Regions from separate parts of the Homo sapiens genome. Here regions 1 and 3 are each linked to region 2. Evidence: promoter capture Hi-C in 16 types of primary human blood cells and fetal thymus (Javierre and others, 2016). All regions are on one chromosome and are shown on one strand. The core of a region is centred on a gene start or on the middle of the fragment in contact, and the rest is flanking DNA. Distances in the headings are between cores, read along the strand shown.

The links. The method cuts DNA at HindIII sites, captures the fragments that hold promoters and counts their contacts. A CHiCAGO score of 5 or more calls a contact.
Region 1: a contact is called between a fragment that was not itself captured here and the fragment with the promoter of ZNF649 in region 2, in 1 of 17 cell types (fetal thymus). The highest score is 5.1, in fetal thymus.
Region 3: a contact is called between a fragment that was not itself captured here and the fragment with the promoter of ZNF649 in region 2, in 1 of 17 cell types (non-activated CD4 T cells). The highest score is 6.4, in non-activated CD4 T cells.

The regions. Positions count from the first base shown.
Region 1 is chr19:53,237,207-53,242,040 of GRCh38, forward strand. It overlaps ZNF677 (zinc finger protein 677), which reads right to left. Exons shown (of 5, transcript NM_182609.4): 5 at 1-1,351. Among named protein-coding and RNA genes, the nearest start is that of ZNF677, 15 kb to the right of the region's middle. The HindIII fragment of the contact is 300 bases long and covers 1,465-1,764 here.
Region 2 is chr19:51,902,805-51,907,901 of GRCh38, forward strand. It overlaps ZNF649 (zinc finger protein 649), which reads right to left and starts at 2,213. Exons shown (of 5, transcript NM_023074.4): 1 at 2,110-2,213. RefSeq lists enhancers at 346-891, 1,982-2,526, 2,245-2,364, 2,855-3,479, 4,363-5,038 and 1 more. The HindIII fragment of the contact is 3,228 bases long and covers 337-3,564 here.
Region 3 is chr19:53,462,326-53,466,754 of GRCh38, forward strand. It overlaps the pseudogene VN1R102P. Among named protein-coding and RNA genes, the nearest start is that of ZNF813, 3.2 kb to the right of the region's middle. The HindIII fragment of the contact is 3,353 bases long and covers 371-3,723 here.

The DNA.
Region 1 (4,834 bases), core at 365-2,864, 1.3 Mb after region 2:
TTCTTATGCTGAGTAAGATTTGAACGTTCAGTAAAGGCTTTGCCACATTCAGTACATTTGTAAGGTTTCTCTCCAGTATGAGTTCTCTGATGACCCCAAAGGTGTGAACGTTTGATAAAAGCTTTATCACATTTATTACATTTGTAAGGTTTTTCTCCAGTGTGAATTCTCTGATGTTCCACAAGACTTGAACTTTGGATAAAAGCCCTGCCACACACATTACATTTGTGTGGTTTCTCTCCAGGATGTATATTCTGATGCCTAGTGAGATGTGAGCACTGCTTAAAAGCTTTGCCACACTCATTACATATGTAAGGCTTCTCTCCAGTATGGATTCTCTTATGTTGGGTAAGGCTTGAACGTTCAGCAAAGGCTTTGTCACATTCATTACATTTGTAAGGTTTCTCTCCAGTATGAATTCTTTCATGACCCCAAAGGTGTGAACGCTGGATAAATGCCTTACCACATTCATTACATTTGTAAGGTTTCTCTCCAGTATGCATCCTCTGATGACTTGCAAGATTTGAATTTTGACTACAGACCTTGCCACATATATTACATTGATATGGTTTCTCTCCTGTATGGACTCTCTGATGCCTAGTGAGGTTCGAACACTGGTTAAAGGCTTTGCCACACTCGTTACATTTGTAAGGTCTCTGTCCAGAGTGAATTCTCTGATGATTAGTGAGGTTCGAACTTTTGCTAAAAGCCTTTCCACAGTCATTACACTTGTATGATTTTTCTCTAATGTGTGTTCTCCCATACTGTGTATGTAATAAAGGGTATTTCAAAATCTTCCTATATTTATTACAAATGTTTTTGACACAAGGAGGAAGTGGTGAAACTGAGGAACTATTGATAGACTTCTCAACTGGATTACATTCATACATTTTCTCCCCAGTTTGAAATCTCTGTAGTTCAGCCAGCTGTGCCTGTAAGCTTAATCCAATTTTATTTTCAAAACACTTCACGTATTTGTTTCCGGCATACCTTATGTTATTTTTCAGTTTTAACAAATTCCTTATAAATGGCTTGTCATGGATGAAATACTGGTGTGCACTATCTCTTATAGAAACACTCTGCTTTAAAGAGAAATGTATTGAGGATTTATTATGTTGTTGATCTTTTCTGTGAGTGAGATTTTTGTTACAGGTCAAAGGCATTCCTTTGTAATTTTTTACATCATAGTCCCACAGGCTGTCAAACTTAGGCATATTTTCCCAGACTTCCTTGAGGTCAAAATTGTTGATGCCATGGCTTTCCTTTCTTTCTAATATCACCAGATGGTATAATTCCTCTTTATTATTTTCCTTTGGTGATAATCCCTTGCTTGTAAATCCAACAGAAATATCTGAAAGATATTAAAAAAACCACAGGCTTTCCATCAAATAGAGTTGCAAGGTAAATATTTTATTAAAATACATATTACAAGAAAGCTAAGATTTACAATGAACAGAGTTATGAAGCTTCTCAACTGTCTTTAAACGTTTAACAACACAAAGGGACTAGCTGTCCTCAATAAAGTAACACAGTAACAAAACATGTAACAAATTATTTTAAGCACAGTTTAAAACACCCTATAGCTAAAACACTCATACTATGTAAATCCACATAAACTCTGAAAGAAGAGGTATTTTTCCACCACCACTCCAAGGAACACGTAAATTGGCATAGCTATATGGTAGTCTCATATTTGAAGATAAACAAATAGTAATGCATTATTTAGTACATAATTATTACACACAAAAGGTAAGGCACAGCTCAAGCTTATCTAATAAAAAATATTTAAAAATGACAATTCATAATTGCAAACAAAACACTGAAAGAAAAAATTCGGAAGAATTTAATAAAATTTTGAATATTTACAAATTGCAAATGTGAGTACTTGTTATAAAACTACTTACACCCATGTAGAATGTGCATTTTGCAGCATTAACAATTTGTGCATGGTGGTTCTATTGCATAATATATACTGAAAAACCATCATCTGTAAATCATTACAAAAATAAATAAAACACTTTAGTAACCTGTGAAAATCTAACAGGCAAGTTAATGAACAACCACAATTACACAAAATTGTCAGTGAAATTCTAAAGAATTACTGCTTATGAACTACAGAAAAAACAGAAGGGACACACAATAGGAAAAATAATATGTTGAGAATCACTAAATTTTGAAATATCAGCTTCAGGTAAATGCACATTACTATAAAGATGAAGAATTAGGAGGGGAGTCTGAAATAATTTCATGCCTGCAGTTATATGACAGCAGTATATAGAGAAACTCCCTGACTAGGAAATGTCATCTAGTTTTCCAGTTCTATGGCCAAAAAATACATATAATGAAAGCTGTGTGCTTTAACATTTTATTATGTAGAGTCAGAGAAATGTTGATATGAAAAAAAAAATTACAAAAAAGAAAATATGTAAGATATAATGAAGGCAAAGGTCAATCTCATAAGAAACATGACAGACACTTGACATATCTTATTCATAAAGGTAACTTTTCAAAGCATACTAAATGCTATGCAAGTTACTAAGGTCTCTAACAGCACTAATTGATGTAAATCCTCTTGAGGTAAATTATCGCACCTTTTCATACCAAAACAAAGGGCTGAAGAGGTTTACATATCTATCCCTAACTCACAGAGAAAGCACATCTGAAAGCCAGAATCTGAACCTGTGTGTGCGGGCTAAGATGCCATGTTCACAGCATTAAGCACCACTGGCCACCCAGGGCAGCACGGATTATAAATCACAGCAAATACGAGGAGTGTAGGAAGAAATGTTTCAAGGCAGATTATGGGACCTGAGCTGTGTCACCTATAGTGTGACAGCACCACTGCTCTCAGATAGCATTTAAGTCACCTTATCTTGCACAAGTTGTTTAGACAGTGACCAGATCATGTTGCTGTCCTGAGTAAGCTGTCCTGTGTATAAGCAGGAGTCATTCTTTACACAGTGTGTGCAATGAAGGGATGTTATTCTGTGCTAAAAAGAAATGAGCTGTCAAGCTATAAAAAGACATGGAAGAAATTTATTTTATTTATCTATTTTTTGAGATGGAGTCTCGCTCTGTTGCCCAGGCTGGAGTGCAGTGGCATGGTCTCGGCTCATCACAACCTCTGCCTCCCAGGTTCACGCCATTCTCCTGCCTCAGCCTCCTGAGTAGCTGGAACTACAGGTGCCCGCCACCACGCCCGGCTTATTTTCTGTATTTTTAGTAGAGACGGGGTTTCACCATGTTAGCCAGGATCGTCTTGATCTCCTGACCTCGTGATCCGCCGGCCTCGGCCTCCCAAAGTGCTGGGATTACAGGCGTGAGCCACCACGCCCAGCCCTAGAAATTGAAATGCATATTATTAAGTGAAAGAAGCCAATCTGAAAAGGCCATATACTATATGGTTCCAACTATATGACATTCTGAAAAAGGCAAATCTATGGAGACAGTAAAGAGATCAGTGGTTGCCAGGTGCTGGGGGGAGGGAGAGATGAACAGACAGAGCACAGATTTTTTAGGGCAGTGTAATTATTCTGTAAGATACTATTATGGAGGATATATGTCTATTATATATTTGCCCAAACCCAAAGCATATACATAGAGTGAACCCCAACATCGACTATGGACTTTGGGTGATAATGATGTGTCAATGTAGGTTTATCAATTTTAACAAATGTACCACTGTGATGGGGGATGGTGATAATGGGGGAAGACGCTGTGCACGTGTGGGGGAACAGAGTATACAGGAAATCTAGTTTGCTGTGAACATAAAATTGCTAAAAAATAGAAAGTCTATTTTTAAAAAGTATAAGCTAAGAGTTGATATAAAGTTACAGGAAACAGAAGTAAAAGGAATAACTAATACTATCCTTTAACAAAGTTTTGGAGGTTATATATGTTTTGAGGAAACTAATACTCAGACATAAATACTCAAGGAAGAAATCTTCTGGTAAAACATATAAAACATCATGAAAGTATATGAAGCAGAAAAAAATATATATAATAAAACAATATTCATTCATCTCATGGCCCCACACACTGTAGATATAAAACAAAAAACACTAAGAGTATCATGAAAACATGTAACTGCTGATTAAATACATACAAGTTCATTTATACCAATGACATTGGCAAAATGAAAGTGTCAGTGGCTTAACCAAATTATACTGAACTTTAAAAATGTATGCCTAATTCAACTTTGTAAGCTCCCTCAATAAAGGCATAAAAATCATACTGAAGAAAAATGTACAACTGCACGTATGGGATGAATAATGTGGTATGAGCAACAGTTTGGTCAACATGTTCGCAGATATGAGGTTGAGAACTTGGAGAATGCTCTTCCCAGGAGAAACTCCTACACCTTGTACTGCTGGCTCCAAGAGGATGATCAGCATATATCTAACCAGCGTTGTCACACTGCCCTTGGGAGACACTGGAAACTCCACAGAAACCAGAAGGTCAGAAGCACTTATCCCTCCGGCTGTCCTGATTCTCTCTCAGCATACTGGGACATGCAGGCTACTCTACTCAGTGGCTTCAAGAGGCACCTCTATGTAGCAGAATGATACTGTGACAGATTAATTAATGTTCTCTTTCAAGAATGTTCTGTCACCAAGGAAACCTCTTCCATGGGAGAGTCCACCAAAAGTTGTCCATCGCCTATTGGTGGGTTATCACAGCAGAAAGAGAGGAAATTTCAGACTCTAGGAATGTGTACTTTTCTTTTTCTTTTTTTTTTTTTCGAGATGGAGTTTTGCTCTTGTTGCCCAGGCTGGAGTGCAATGGCGTGATCTCGGCTCACCACAACCTCTGCCTCTCGGGTTCAAGCAACTCT
Region 2 (5,097 bases), core at 963-3,462:
TTTCTAGGATTTGACATTTTCAGTGATCGAGAACTACTACATTTTGTAAATGGAAATACCACTACTAAAAACAGAATGCTATAAGTAGAATGATGTCTTTTGTTTCCCAAGGCGACCTACTAGAGCGATGTGAAAATAATAAAAGTGAGATCGTTCATGGCAAAGTTATCTCGGGGTAAATGCTCCAGCTGCAAGCACCAAAGGTGAGTATTCTCAGGGCAAATGGGAAAAGGAATAAAGGATATTACGAAGGATACAGATGAAGAGGCAGATGGAAGGGATAGCACAGAGCAAGGTTTGTAGCAAGGGGCGTGGGACTTCCATGCCCTCCACGGAAGCTTATTAGAGACTCAGTTCACCACCCTCAGGCACCTCCACATGCTCAAGAATCTGTAAGTTCCCCAGAAGTTCACCAGTCCTTTTGAGTTTTTACGCTGGTTTCATTATGTGGGCATACTTGATTAAAACACTAACCACTGGTGATCAACTCAACCTTCAACTTCCCTGTTGCCAGGCAGAGCTAAAATTTCCAACCCTCAAATGACATGGTTAGTTGCCCTGGCAACCAGCCTCCCCCGTCCTAAGGCCAGCCAGAAGCCCCCAGTCACCAGCCATCTCAATGCCACACAAAAAGGCACTGTTTACTGAAGAGGTTCCAAGGCTTTTGGGAGACATGTGCCAGGAAACAGGACAAAGATCGATTATACATTTCTTATAAATCGTAACAATCATAGCTAGGCGCGATGGCTCATGCCTATAATCCCAGCACTTTGGAAGGCCGAGGCGGGCAGATCACCTGAGGTCAGGAGTTCAAGACCAGCCTGGCCAACGTGGTGAAAGCCTGTCTCTACTAAAAATACAAAAATTAGCCGGGCGTGGTGGCGGGCGCCTGTAATCCCAGCCACTCGGGAGGCTGAGGCAGGACAGTCGCTAGAACCCAGGAGGCGGAGGTTGCAGTGAGCTGAGATCGCACCACTGCACTCCAGACTGGACAACAGAGCTAGATTCCGTCTGGGGGATAGGAGGAAACTTTGATCCCCAAATGCTCAAGGAGACTGATGCTTAAGCAAACTAAATATTGCCTGAGAACGACTCCATACTTCTATATTTGAGTCCTTGTGGATAAACTGCAACCTAGCTTAACAGACAAAATTGAAAACCGAACTTAATCGTATGCACCTGTAACAATAGCTGAGTGGTGGCCAGTCCCAGCGGCCATACTCATAGACTGCTGAATGTTCCAACTGCGTTCAAATAAGGCAAACGCCGAATGGTAACCAATCTCACTGTTTCTGGACCTCGCTTCCGATTCCTGTATGTCACTTTACCTTTTTTGTCTATAAATTTGTTCTGACCACGAGGCACCCCTGGAGTCTCTGTTAATCTGCTGTGATTCTGGGGGCTGCCCAATTCGCGAATCGTTCATTGCTCAAGGAAACTCCTGTAAATTTAATTCGGCTTCAATTTTTCTTTTATCACTGATTTGAGTAATAATAAAACTCCGGTCTCCCCGCACAGCCGGCTCTGCATGAATTGCTCTTTCTCCATTGCAATTTCCCTGTCTTAACAAGTCGGCTCTGTCTAGGCAGCCGGCAAGGGTGGGCGGTTATAGTTTCACAACTCAACCCCAGCCAGGGGCCTGGGCTTGTAAAATACCAGATTTTACAAGCCTCTGAGCCCCACATGCCTGGGCCTCCCCGAAACACTTAACACACATCCCCGATTCACCCCAAAACCTACACCACACACCCTCGTACGCTGCCCAGCACCCCGGCTTCATCACCGACTTTAAACTGCAGCATTTGGAGTGATAATAATGGCGTCGGTGATAAAGCCGGCGTGCTGGGCAGCGTCCCCCTAGAGTTCTCCATCCAGTGATCCAGAGGCCTACTAACAGAGTGACCCTCAGAGACCCCAAACTCTGACGCCGAGTCTCAGTCGCTGAACTCGACAGACCTTTAACGCCCGACCACAAGAACTCTCCCACGCCGGACCGCAAAGGCACCCCAACCCAAAGGCTCCACCGCCCAGGCCGCCAGCTCTCCCCACAGGCTCCTCAGAAGCTCCCTACCCCTTTAACCTACTCCACGGAGAGACCCAAACACTCACCTGATTTTCTTCTGGCTACACCTAAATTCCCTGAATGCTTCCTTTCCTGGCCCTTAAACCCCGGCACTGGCCTATGGCGGCGGACGAGGGCGCGAGTCAATTCTGCCGCGCTAGGACGATGGGACATGGGCTTCTCTTCGAGGAGGTAACATGTCCGCGCCCTGAGCCACGGCTCTCTGGGCGCGGCCATCTTGGTAGATCTGCCGTACAGAAGGGAAACAGTTGTTCTTGTGTCATTAAACCGGGATGACTCTCCTGAAAGCAAAAATTTGAGGCGCAGGAGCATTTTCTAGAGTTTATCTGAACAAACAGCAATTCATGAATTAGGAAGCATCAAACCAAAAGAAGTCTCGCGCTTCTATGCTTAAAGCATTAGACACAAGTATTCACAGGGTGAGTGAAGGAGTAAAACAAAGAAATTATTTGATTAGTTACAATTATAAAAATGCATTTTTTTAAATTTGCCTTGGAAAGTCCCTAATGACATAATAGCATGTGAGTTGCCTACTTTTGATCGGTTGAGATTGAGTTTTGTCCTTCCCTAACACAAGCATTTACCAGAAATGACTCAAGTGAATTGTTGCTTATGTTTGCAGGTTAAGCAAGGTTAAGGCTGTTTTTAAGGCCTACTGGGTTTTGTTTGCTCAGGAGTTTTTGAATTCTGGTCTGCATTTTAATTTTGCTTTGACACAGGAGACAGTGAAATGGCACTGATGTGTTCCCTCTCCTGACACCTCAACCCCTGCACTGTGAGGTTGGAGCACTAACAACAGTGCACTGTGGGGAAAAGAAAGAGAGATCAGACTGTTACTGTGTCTATGTAGAAAGAAGTAGACATAAGAGACTCCATTTTGTTCCGTACTAAGAAAAATTCTTCTGCCTTGAGATGCTGTTAATCTGTAACCCTACCCCCAACCCTGTTCTCACAGAGACGTGTGCTGTGTTGACTCAAGGTTTAATGGATTTAGGGCTATGCAGGATGTGCTTTGTTAAACAAATGCTTGAAGGCAGTATGCTTGTTAAAAGTCATCACCACTCTCTAATCTCAAGTACCCAGGGACACAATACACTGCGGAAGGCCACAGGGACCTCTGCCCCAGAAAGCCAGGTATTATCCAAGGTTTCTCCCCATGTGATAGTCTGAAATATGGCCTCGTGGGAAGGGAAAGACCTGACCATCCCTCAGCCCGACACCCGTAAAGGGTCTGTGCTGAGGAGGATTAGTATAAGAGGAAGGAAGGCCTCTTGCAGTTGAGACAAGAGGAAGGCATCTGTCTCCTGCTCGTCCCTGGGCAATGGAATGTCTCGGTATAAAACCCGATTGTATGTTCCATCTACTGAGATAGGAGAAAATCGCCTTAGGGCTGGAGGTGAGACAAGCTGGCGGCAATACTGCTCTTTAATGCACCGAGACGTTTATGTATGTGCATATCAAAGCACAGCACCTTCTTCTTAAGCTTGTTTATGACACAGAGACATTTGTTCACATGTTTTCCTGCTGACACTCTCCCCACTATTATCCTATTGTCCTGCCACATCCCCCTCTCCGAGATGGTAGAGATAATGATCAATAAATACTGAGGGACTCAGAGACCGGTGCCGGCGCGGGTCCTCTGTATGCTGAGCACCGGTCCCCTGGACCCACTTTTCTTTCTCTATACTTTGTCTCTGTATCTCTTCTTTTCTCAGTCTCTCGTCCCACCTGACGAGAAACACCCACAGATGTGGAGAGGCAGGCCACCCCTTCACTGCACAAACCACACAGATATTCAGAGGCTCAAATGCAACCAAGGCTGTTGCGGGAAGTCAGGGACCCCAAACGGAGGGACCGGCTGAAGCCATGGCAGAAAAACATGGATTGTGAAGATTTTATGGACATTTATTAGTTCCCCAAATTAATACTTTTGTAATTTCTTATGCCTGTCTTTACTGCAATCTGTAAACATAAATCGTAAAGATTTCATGGACACTTATCACTTCCCCAATCAATATCCTTGTGATTTCCTATGCCTGTCTTTGCTTTAATCTCTTAATCCTGTCAGCCGAGAAGGATGTATATCGTCTCAGGACCCTGTAATAATTGTGTTAACTACACAAATTGTACAGCATGTGTGTTTGAGCAATATGAAATGTGGGCACCCTGAAAAAAGAACAGGATAACAGCAATTGTTCAGGGAATAAGAGAGAGAACCTTTAACTCTGACCGCCGGTGAGCCGGGCGGAACAGAGCCATATTTGTCTTCTTTCAAAAGCAAATGGGAGAAATATCACTGAATTCCTTTTCTCAGCATGGAACGTCCCTGAGAAACAGAATGCGCACCTAGGGGTAGGTCTCTGAACTGGCCTCCCCCGGGCGTACCTGTCTCTTATGGTCGAGATTGCAGAGGTGAAATAAACTCCAGTCTCCCATAGCGCTCCCAGGCTTGTTAGGAAGAGGAAATTCCCGCCTAATAAACTTTGGTCAGACCGGTTGATCTCAAAACCCTGTCTCCTGATAAGATGTTATCAATGACAATGGTGCCCAAAACTTCATTAGCAATTTTAATTTCACTTCGGTCCTGTGGTCCTGTGATCTCGCCCTGCCTCCACTTGCCTTGTGATATTCTATTACCCTGTTAAGTACTTGATGTCTGTCACCCACACCTATTCGTATCCTCCCTCCCCTTTTGAAACTCCCTAATAAAAACTTGCTGGTTTTTGTGGCTTGTGGGGCATCACAGATCCTACCAATGTGTGATGTCTCCCCCGGAGGCCCAGCTTTAAAATTTCTCTCTTTTGTACTCTGTCCTTTTATTTCTCAAGCCAGTCGACGCTTAGGCAAATAGAAAAGAACCTACGTGATTATTGGGGCAGGTCCCCCGATACAAGGCCAGCACAGTGCCAAGTATGTCCACCTCAGTGAGCTGCGGAGAGGTGACTGCACCCTTTATTGACTGACTACTAGGAAACTGTCAAGAGGCAGCCCACTGAGCATGGCCATCTTAAAGG
Region 3 (4,429 bases), core at 797-3,296, 1.6 Mb after region 2:
GTAATAAGTTTTGTTACAGTGTCAGCCCACCCGCAGGTAGACATACCTTAGCTTTTACGTAGGCTTTGGCCGGGCGCGGTGGCTCACGCCTGTAATCCCAGCACTTTGGGAGGCCGAGGCAGGTGGATCACGAGGTCAGGAGATCGAGACAATCCTGGCTAACACGATGAAACCCCGTCTCTACTAAAAATACAAAAAATTAGCCGGGCGTAGTGGCGGGCGCCTGTAGTCCCAGCTACTTGGGAGGCAGAGGCAGGAGAATGGCGTGAACCCGGGAGGCGGAGCTTGCAGTGAGCCCAGATCGCGCCACTGCACTCCAGCCTGGGCAACAGAGCGAGACTCCATCTCAAAAAAAAAAAAAAAAAAAAAAAGCTTTTACGTAGGCCTCTATGTAAGAAAAACTTCAGGAGGAGGCGTTCCCCCTGCTTTCTGAGGACGCCCTACTGCGTAACTGGTAGCTTTCAATAAACTCTCTCGCCTCACTACACTCGGACCCTCGCCTTGAATTTTTTACTGCGCAAGATCCAAGAACTCTCACATGGGGTGTGGACTGTGACACCATTTTAGGCAACAAAACGACTGAACGTTATACAAAAACAGACAATTAATCCAATTCTCACAAAAGCAGGAATTTGGTAGTCCTCATCCAGCATGCCAAGCAAAGATCCACACTGTGGAGTCAGCGCTCACGAGAACAAAGGGGCTGACAGCTGGGAAACATGGGTGGATGAAGGGTGAGGCGCTCAGCAGCCGCCAACTGGGATTATTGGAAAGGGCAATAGGGTATTGAAAGGCGGAGGACACGGTCTAAAACGATACAAAAGCTGCAGAGCCACTGGGCCTGCGAGCTTCCCATGGGGAAGCCGGGACTCCCTGACAACTGCACAAACTCGCGTGGGGATTTCAACATCCCGAAGCACCCAGATTCCTTCTGGGCGGGTTCTGGACAGAGAGCGGGGACGGAACGGGAGGGGTAAAGGTCGCCGAGGGGGCCGGGCCAGAACAGGTGCTGGGTCGGGGAGAGAGGGTGGAGGCAGCTTTGGAAACCGGGCCTGGTTAGAGGGTGGGGGTGGGGCCTGGAATGGGAGTGGGCGGGGCAAGAGGGAGGAGGCTGCCTGGGGGCCGGGCTGGACAGCAGGAAAAGGCGGGACCCGAGGGTTAGCGTCATCTTGGGGGTGGGGTCTGGAAGGGGTTTTTTGTTCTGAAGGGCGGGGCCTGGAGGGGGCGGGTCCGGATTCTTTTCTCAGCTGGGCCGTGGATGTCGCCTGCTCTCATCCTCTTGCCCTCCAGGACTGGGTCCTCCGGGTTCTGATTGGTGGATTGTTTCTGATGTGCCATGATATTACCCCTAATATCACAGGGATGCTTCCTGCCCGTTGAAGTTACTATTTCGAACAATCGAAGGTAAAACAACATATTGTAGTGGGCCACCTGTACTGAACGTTGAATCGTTTTTCCTCTTAAGTTGAAAATAGTTTCAATGCAAAGAGCTTTTTTGGAGAAGGTAGAGTCGCGCGTCCTGCAGGCGGGGCAAGCTCCCCTCAGTCTGGGGCAGGGCGGTGGAGAGGGTCAGGGACCTCGGTAAAGGGGTGGAGTGGGGCGCTGGTTGCAGCGGGCACAGACAATTAGAACGGCTTATTAAACTAAGCAAGGTCCTGGGTTGGGTTGTTTGAGTGGATAATGGAAACTGAAGGGTGACAAGCAGAACTGCCTATTATACACAGGAGGTGAAGGACAATTTCATATTTCATGGAAATAAAGTCAGGGCCCGGAGCGGTGGTTCACACTTGTAATCCCAGCACTTTGAGTGGCCGAAGTGAGAGGATCGCTTGAGCCCAGGAGTTTGAGATCAGCCTGGGCAACATGATGAGACGTCGTCTCTAATAAAAATATAAAAAAATCAGCCAAGTGTGGTGGTGCGCGCCTGTGGTCCCAGCTGCTGGAGCGCTGAGGTGGGAGGATCGCTTGAGCCAGGGAGTTGGAGGCTGCAGTGAGCCCTGATCTCACCACCACACTCTAGCCTGGGTGTCAGAGCTAGACCCTGTCTCAAACAAACAAGCAAATAAATGAGAGGTGTAATTCCTCCTGTGAAAATAAAGAGATTTACTTTCCTTTCGTCTCTTTTCTTAGGAGACTTATTTAGAAAATTTGTAAATGGATTTTGTCTGTCTTCTGAGGTTTTTTGTTGTTTTGTTTTTGTTGTTTGTTTTTTAGATGGAGTTTTGCTTTTGTTGCTTAGGCTAGAGTGCAATTGCACGATCCCAGTTCACCGCAGCCTTCAACTTCCGGGTACAAGCCCGGTTTCGAACTCCTGACCTCAAGTGATTCGCCATCTTGGCCTCTGAAAGTGCTGGGATTACAGGTGTGAACCACCACACCTGGTCTGAAGTGGTATTTTTTAGAAACTAACTAAACCTTTTTTCAGCTTGATGACCCAGGGATGTATTTCTGAAGGACTTGGGAGCTCTCTTTGAAAGGCAAAATACAAGGGAGACAGTACCTGTATCTCAGTAGGAAATTAAATAATTCATACATCAAATAATTCCAATTTAAAGCTATGACCTTTAAATAATTATGAGCCTTTGAAGAGAGAGGCCATTTCTCTTACTGTCTCCTGTCTCTGAAGTAAAAGCTGAAAAACAACAGGAATGAAGTCAGTGGCAAGACCAGCTGGTGCCACTGATGACCAGGCCTGAGGTTAAAATATTAACCCCCAACTCTAACCACATGTGCTCTCAATCTATCATGACCCTTTCACGTGGAACCCCTTACAGTTGTAAGCCCTTAAAAGGACCAGGAACTCCTTCTTGGGGGAGCTCGGTTCTTGAGATGCCAGTCAGCCGATGCTCCCGGCCAAATAAAGCAACTTCCTTCTTTAACCCTGTGTGTGAGGGCTTTTGTCTGTGGCTCGTCCTGCTACACCTTGAGAGAAATGTGCTCATTCAGCTTGAGTCCAGTGGAATGCAGGCGTAACTTCTACGAGTTTTCCTTGCCACGTGTGGTGGCCCACACCTGTAATCTCACCACTTTGGGAGGTCGAGGTGGACAGATCACTTGAGGTCAAGAGTTTGAAACTAGCATGGCCAACATGGTGAAACCACCTCTCTACTAAAAATACAAAACAAAAGGCCAGGCGTGGTGGCTCACACCTGTAATCCCAGAAAATTGGAAGGCTTGGGCGGGTGGATCACAAGGTCAGGAGTTTGAGACCAGCCTGCCCTACATGGTGAAACCCCATCTCTACTAAAAATACAAAAGTTAGCTGGGCTCCTAGCTACTCGAGAGCCTGAGCCAGGAGAATCGCTTGAACCCGGGAGGCAGAGGTTGCAGTAAGCAGCTGAGATCGTGTCATTGCTCTCCAGCTTAGGCAACAGAGCGAGACTCTGTCTCAAACAAAAAAAAACAATGGTGGCATGCACCTGTAATCCCAGCTACTTGGGAGGCTGAGGCAAGAGAACTGCTTGAATCTGAGAGGTAGAGGTTGCAGTGAGCCGAGGTCGCCCCACTGCACTCCAGCCTATGCAAGTCTTCCTCTTATTTACAGGAAAAGTTTTCATGTAAATAATTAGAAAGACTAAGCAACCCCAGAGATAAGACCTCCTGAGATCATTGTCCCTTTTTATGGAGTGATAAAGTAACCTTCCTTGAAGTGTATCACTCTGTCACCAATCAACTTGCTGCAACCTATGCACTGGTCTTGAATGGAAAATGTGATTGTCCTAAAGCTTCTGTCTTTCCCTGTGTGTGAAACCTAAACGTCTCTACTATGGAACGCTGATCCCATTCATTTGGAGTTGATGTTTGCCAGTGGCTATCCTCATGCTTTGTGTTCAGATAAACTCTATATTTAATCATAAATTCTAAATTTTATTATTTACTGCTGACATCAGTTTCTGTCGGATTTTAGGAGCCTCACTACAGAGGGCACCTGTCGCCATGTTGTAAAACTCACACTTGTCAAAAAAACATGGGTTAGGGTTTCTTCCCCTCCTCGGCATGAAGCTACTTAGCTGACACAGATGGTTACCTCCATTACCAAGTAGAGCCAGGATGAACTATGTGTGACCAAGGGTGTTGTCAAGTCCTCTTCCCTGAGGACTGATTAGTGTTTATCTTGAAAACATGTACTTAATGGGTTGTATAGAACAGTGAAGTTTCTTTCTCTCTTTTCAACCTCTTAGCTGTTTGTCTATTTCGCATCATAATCTGGCCTAAGGCTTATTTATTAATGAAATGGTTTTAATTTCTTTCTCTATTGTCGTCGTGGAGATGATTTCTCATTGGGGGGAAGACTTTTTGTTTGTTTTCAATTATGTTTTCTCAACAATTGGAAAGTGAAGTAAAAAGTATTTGTTGGGCCAGGTGCAGTGGCTCACGCCTGTAATGCCAGCACTTTGGGAGGCCGAGGCAGGCGGATCACTTGAAGTCA